Linked DNA regions of Homo sapiens: region 1 is linked to region 2. The links are contacts of gene promoters, found by promoter capture Hi-C in blood cells and fetal thymus (Javierre and others, 2016). All regions are on one chromosome and are shown on one strand. The core of a region is centred on a gene start or on the middle of the fragment in contact, and the rest is flanking DNA. Distances in the headings are between cores, read along the strand shown. Region 1 overlaps NUDCD3 (NudC domain containing 3). Region 2 holds the start of MYO1G (myosin IG).

What was found. The method cuts DNA at HindIII sites, captures the fragments that hold promoters and counts their contacts. A CHiCAGO score of 5 or more calls a contact.
Region 1: a contact is called between a fragment that was not itself captured here and the fragment with the promoter of MYO1G in region 2, in 1 of 17 cell types (total B cells). The highest score is 5.9, in total B cells.

The regions. Positions count from the first base shown.
Region 1 is chr7:44,464,502-44,467,592 of GRCh38, reverse strand. The region is part of intron 2 of NUDCD3 (NudC domain containing 3); the gene reads left to right. Among named protein-coding and RNA genes, the nearest start is that of NUDCD3, 25 kb to the left of the region's middle. The HindIII fragment of the contact is 2,956 bases long and covers 1-2,822 here.
Region 2 is chr7:44,977,428-44,980,547 of GRCh38, reverse strand. MYO1G (myosin IG) reads left to right here and starts at 1,533. Exons shown (of 22, transcript NM_033054.3): 1 at 1,533-1,681. The coding sequence starts at 1,587. RefSeq lists enhancers at 1,151-1,200, 1,231-1,300 and a silencer at 1,501-1,590. The HindIII fragment of the contact is 4,854 bases long and covers 960-3,120 here.

The DNA.
Region 1 (3,091 bases), core at 95-2,594, 510 kb after region 2:
CGGGCCTCAATGGGGACCTTGATCTCTGACCTGCCCCTTGATCAAAGAGCTCCACCTCTGACTTGTCCCTTGATCTGGGAGCTTGGGTTCTAACTTGGCAGCCTGGATCAGGGTGATTGGCCTCTGGCTGATGCAGAGGAACCTCTGGCTTCTTTTTCTTCCTTTGAGCAGTTGTACAATTTGAGTCAGGAAGGGAGAGAGGATGGCTTCTTTCTGGCCACCCACTAGCAGAAGTCTTGGAGTGGGCGCTTCGCCGTTCCCATGTTAAATGAGCAGTTCTGATTCTGTCTGGGCACATTCTACTTCTGAAAGCAAAATTTCACACCGATCTCTGTGGGTGGTATTATTGTGAGGACCATTGGAAGGGACTCTCCTTCCTTCCCTCCTTTTCTGTCATAACTTTTCTATCTTTATTGACCCATTCTTCAGTAGGGGTGAGATGCTGGTTCAGCAGGCCCTGTAATAGCAGCACACTCTGCCCTGCAGAGGTTGGAGGAAGTGACACCCAACCTTCTTCACCACGGGGGGCTGGTGAGGGTGAATGTGGGGAAAGAAACCAGTCAGTGCCCCTCAATCTTCACTGCTGATAGCTGAGCCACACCATAGATTTGGACCAGAATCTTCTCCCAAGGAGGGCCAGTGCTCTCTTCCCATGACCCTCATAGCAGAGTCTGAAACAGCAGTCTGAGTGGGTCACACGTTCCCTCACCCGGTGGGGCTTTGTGACCTAGTGATTCATGGGAAGCGGGGGTGTTTGCACACTTTCTCCCTCCTGCCCACTAGCATGCCTCCTGCTTTGCAGGCTCACCCAGAGCTTTCTATTCTGCTGCTGCTAGAGCTTCCCAATAAGTGGGTAGGTAGGACTAGCTGTGACCTAGAAAACACTTAGCATTATCCAAGTGTCCCTAGTGAAAAGCTGAATAAAGCAGGAGAAATGTCACTTTGGATGCTCAAGTTCTCCTAGGAGAACAAACTTCCAGACCTTTTGTTTCCCCTAATTTTTGAAGGCAGCATGGCTGAGCCCAGAACCACATGGCTGAGCCTGGTACCAGAGTGGCTGGCAGGATGAGCACTTCACAGATTGGTGTGGTGACTAGCAGCCTCCTTCCTGAGGCCTTTGGGGCCCTGCTGACTGTACTGGGTCTTAAGTAAGAAAAACAGAAAACTGTTTCTCTCTCCAAGGAAAACAAGCAATAAACCCCATGTACATACCTCCCTGAGTTCTGAGTAAGAAAGGAAACCAGGCATGGTGGCCCCAGAAGTGTTCAGGGCATATGGGTATGATCCCTTGCCCGAGTGGGTTGGCAGTGTCCTCTTGAGAGGCTTTTTGTGTCTGCTGAGTATTTTCCAATTTAGGGTGGCTCAGGGGATGGGATGAGGATTCTTCAACTTTTTCCTTGTTTTTTAGCTTTTTTCCTTCTCAAGTTGGCCCTGGGTGGCTGTCCCTGCTTCTAGGGGCCATTGTGAGCTTTACATTGGTGCAGTGCTGGCTCCTGGCAGCAAGCATCTGGCTTATACCACTGAGATGTCTCATGTTGGGTGGCTGTGCCACCCAGGCTTCCATGGTCCTGGGTTCACTGGTCATTTCTTTCCCAAAAGTATGCATTCACGAGGTCAGCTTTGTATCTTTGGGGCCAAGCATCTGTGATTTTGCTGCTCTAGCTTTTATTTAGATTTGACTCTCTTGCACCCCTTTTACCCTGGAACTTCCTATTTTTCCGTAAAAGTTTTTCTTTATTTTTTTTAACTGGTGTTTTGAAAAATGCTGTATGCATATATCAAAAACAATTTGAGAAGTACGGTGGGGTGTATAGTAGAACTTTGGTGGTCTTCTCACTCACGGCCCTGTCTGTGGCTCTGTTCTGCTCTACACAGTGAGGTGACTGTGTTTATCCACTCTACCCTAAGTGGCTGCTGTTACCAGTGTCTGGTGTACCGGTCAGGAGATAGTCTATGAAAATACAAGCATACTTATCTATGCCTGTCTTCTTACTTTTTTCTTTTTTGGTTAATACAGTTTATTTTTAGACTGACTTTAGGTTCACAGCAAAATTGAGCAGGAAGTGCAGAGAGTTCTCCCTGTGCCCATGGCCTCCACGATTAATGTCCCACATTCTCTACTTTTTCAGTTTTAACCTTTCCACAGATGATAGTGGCTGTATACACTGCTCATCCACATCAGTCTCAGTGGGTGTCTGCTGTGTTCTCTAACGGCTGTTCAGAAGTTTCCCACTTCATGTGGACAGGCCTTAAGGTGTTGATGTTTTACTGTGTGAACTGTGCTGTGGCTGTCTGTATTCTCTCAGCCTCATTTCTGGTGGAATTACGGGAGAATGATGTGAGATGACTGTGAGATTTTTAAAATCACTAAAAGTTTCTTTATAGTAATATAGAGGAAAATTAGAAAATACATGTAAAAAACATTAAGATTAAGGAAATTTAAAATGCTCTCTGGAAATGTCCTGGGGATGTCCCATGCTCGTGTGGGGTCTAGGGCACAGGGCGGAGAGCAAAGCATAGGTGTTTGAACTGGTGCTGCTGAGGTGGAGCAGAGCACATGTGTCAGCTTCTGTTTACACCTTCGTTTGGGCCCTTCTGCTCCCCTGCCACTTCCCTGAGCCCTGCCCTCGGCTCGGCCCCTGGGATGGATGTGGGTTATTGTTTTTGGCACTGTAAGAGGAGGGAATTTAGAATAAGGAAAAGAGGGTTGAGATTCTGTACTAAATGCCAGTATTGTTGGGTGTCTTAATCTAAAAGCTGGAATGGGGATAACGCTCCTTCTAAAAGGGTATTGGTCCATAGAATAAGAAAAAATTGAAGCTTATGTAAAGATTTGGTGGGCCGGGCATGGTGTCTCACACCTGTAATCCTAGCCCTTTGGGAGGCCAAGGCGGGCAGATTACTTGAGGCCAAGAGCTCGAGACCAGCCTGGCCAATGTGGTGAAACCCTGTCTCTACTAAAAATACAAAAATTAGCTGGGTTTGGTGGTACATGCCTGTAATCCCAGTTACTCAGGAGGCTGAGGTGGGAGGATTGCTTGAGTCTGAGAGGTGGAGGTTGCAATGAGCCGAGATTGTGCCATTGCACTGG
Region 2 (3,120 bases), core at 284-2,783:
TTCAAAAGCACCAGCCCAAGAGCCTGGGGGTGGGGAGGAGGCCACACTTGTCAGAGTTCCGAAGGACTGACTTTGAATTTGCCCAAGAGGAGCCCCAGGTCTGGCCCAGGGTGGAGCCAGAGGCTGCCCACTTACAAATTTGGGGATTTTTCAGGCCAGTGGCCCCTTATTGCAGTGGTGCGTGACTCAGTTTTATTAGGTACTTGAATAAGTACTTTCAGTTTTATCAGGAATGCATTTGCTTTAAGGTATTCGAGAGAAAAAAATAAACTTAACTTGCCTATCCATTACTTCAAAGTTTAAAAAATGGGATGACTGAAAGACAATAGTTAAACTAGTGCTTATGAGTACAACAAATCTCAAAGGCAGCACATGAATGACTGAAGTTTGGGAATTCTGGAGTCTGCCCTTTGACCTCCCTGTATGAGGGAAGGGGTGAAAGAGAAATGTCACCAGTCTATTTGTAGGATGAGAGAGAACTGCATCCATTTGACCTTTGATGAGAGAATCGCCCCAGTGTTCCTAGAGGATGGGTGTGACCTGCCCCAGTCTGTCCTGGGATGAAAAAGAACTTTTTCCAGTCTGCCTGGAAGCTAAGAGAACTGCACCCCTCCCACTTCTTCCAGGAGCACTAAGTGTCAGGAATGCAGTGTCTGGAGATTTTGGCCACTCCCTAAATGCAGCCGCTCCCCAAATGCGCTGCCTCATCTTCAAAGTGCAGGGACAGCAGCTCTGAGATGAGGCCACAGGGCTCCAGGCATGTTCCTGGTCCTCACTGCAGTTTATGGGGGATCGGCTGGACACAAGTACAAGGCAGAGGACAGTTAGGGGCACAGGGGTCCCACTGAAGGCCAGCCCCATGCAGAGGATGCTCTGGGGTCCTCTGTCCCTCCCCCGTGGCTGGGGTGGGGAATTGCAGTGCTAGGACCACTGGCCCTTGGCAGGTCACACAAGAAGCTTTGCTCGTCTACACCCCAGTGTGGCCTTCACACTGCAAAGAAGGCTGTTGCCCCCACCCCAAAGGCCTGGGCATTAGGATCCTTTTTCATTTTTGTATTAATGTACAATGTACATACAGTATATTGCATCTAGTGTTCAGTTCTGACTTGAGAGACACACACAGCCAGGTAACCAAGATCACGTCAAAAAATCTTTCTTTAAAGTCCCACAAGTGACTCTAACGTGCTGCCAGGGTTGGAAGCCAACCCACGGAGTCTTGTCTCCTGCTTGTGGGTGGAGGGGAGCTTCCGAAGGAGGCCAGCGAAGAACCCTCCAAAGCGGGGAGGACCCAGCATCCGGCCCCTCGCCCCTGGCGTGCAAACGGGTCAGACCGTTAGGCACAGCCTCCTTGTGGGGCGCAGGGACAGGAAGCAGGGTTTAGAGCACCTCGAGGGGGAAGGAGTGGCAAGTGCGGAGGGCAGCCCCTCCCAGGACTAGAACCCACTTCCTACTTTACACCAGCACTGGAGGAGGCTGGTGGGGCAGGGCGGGGGCGGTGGGGCCTCCCCTAGCCTTCCCTCCCCCTCTCCTTCACTGTCCTTCCAGCAGGCACAGGAAGGTGAGGCAAGGTGTTTCCAGCCGGCAGGATGGAGGACGAGGAAGGCCCTGAGTATGGCAAACCTGACTTTGTGCTTTTGGACCAAGTGACCATGGAGGACTTCATGAGGAACCTGCAGCTCAGGTAGGCCCAGGGCAGGAGGCAGTGGCTCCCCTCCTCCAGGGTCTCCCACCTTGCGTCCTCGCAGAGACCTGAGGGAAAGAGGAAGGCACGCTGCTGTCCAAGGGAGGGGGCAGTGGCACACACCCACCCAGACCAGATGGGGCTGAAATGAGTGCCTCAAAGCACGGCCCCAGGGGACAGGAACAGACAAGGAGGCAACTGTCCCTGTCAGGGCTGGCAAGTCAGCACCGGAGCTGCCCACCACCTCAACCCACCCCTGCCTCCCACACAGTCCAGGCATCTTCTGCCCCTTCTTTCCTGCCCGACGGGGCCAGGGCATGACACTTCTTGGACAGATACATACCAGGCACTATCTTTCCAGGAGGGACCAGGGGCACCTCCCTCCAGCCACTTCCCAGCCAGTTGTTGATGCTCCCTCGATGCATCTCATCCATGGGGCCTGGCCTGAGCCCTGGGGACACTGAGATGAAGCAGTCAGGCTCCACCCTAGGGTCCAAACATTCCCACCAAGTTGAGGTGACATTCTCCTGGGGTACATGGAGTATCACAGGACACAGTTGGTAGAAGTGATATTGGAGCCCAATTTACCATCAAGGAGGGCAGGTGGAGGGCAGGGAGAAGCCCGGGAGGTAGGGGCATGGCACAGTAGGGTGGCCATACAGGCAGCTGGGCTTCCTGCCAGGACTCCCAGGGAGGGGCAGAAGGCCACTCGCTGTGTACTCCGGAAGCTCCCTGGGGAGAGCTTGGGGACCAGGATCCCCACTAAGCACCGAAGGCAAGAGACCACGAGCCTGGCTCAAAGAGGAGGGCTAGCCAGGACGTGAGCTAAGCACTTTGTGCACATTGTTCTACCTCATTCTTATAAAATGAGCTTATGAAACATTGTCCTCTCTATTTTGATGAGGAGAACACTGAGCCCTGGAGACGTGGGTGACTTGTGCCCTCATCCCCAGCTTGTAGGAGGATGGGAGCTAGGCCCAGGAAAACCCATGTCAGAGGTGGTGGAGAAAGAGGAACCTCAGGACAGGCCCACCCAGGACAGGCTGCCGGGAGACAGGGCCATCCAGGGAAGGGTGGGTACCACACACCAAGGGGAGATGGGTCTGAGGGGCAGGCCTGCCAGTCCTCCTCCCAGGGGCAGAAAGGTCAAGAGAAGGGCAGACATCCACCCCCACTGGGGACCAGGTTTGTGAAGGAAAGGGTCAAGAAGTCTGAGGCTGTGCCAGGGGAGAGGCAGCAGCCACTGGCCACAGGCTGGGGGGTCGGGGGTGTAAAGACAACGACATCAACTCCCTCCCTGTCATCTGGGTGGGGCTGGGTGGGGTCCCCTTTTGTCTCTGGGTTCCCGCCCAGGCCTTGAGACAGGAAACAGCCGAGGAGGCCCCTCCTTCCCCTCCCAGCCCAGTCACTTCTCAACCCCATCTCCCCATCTGCCCTGC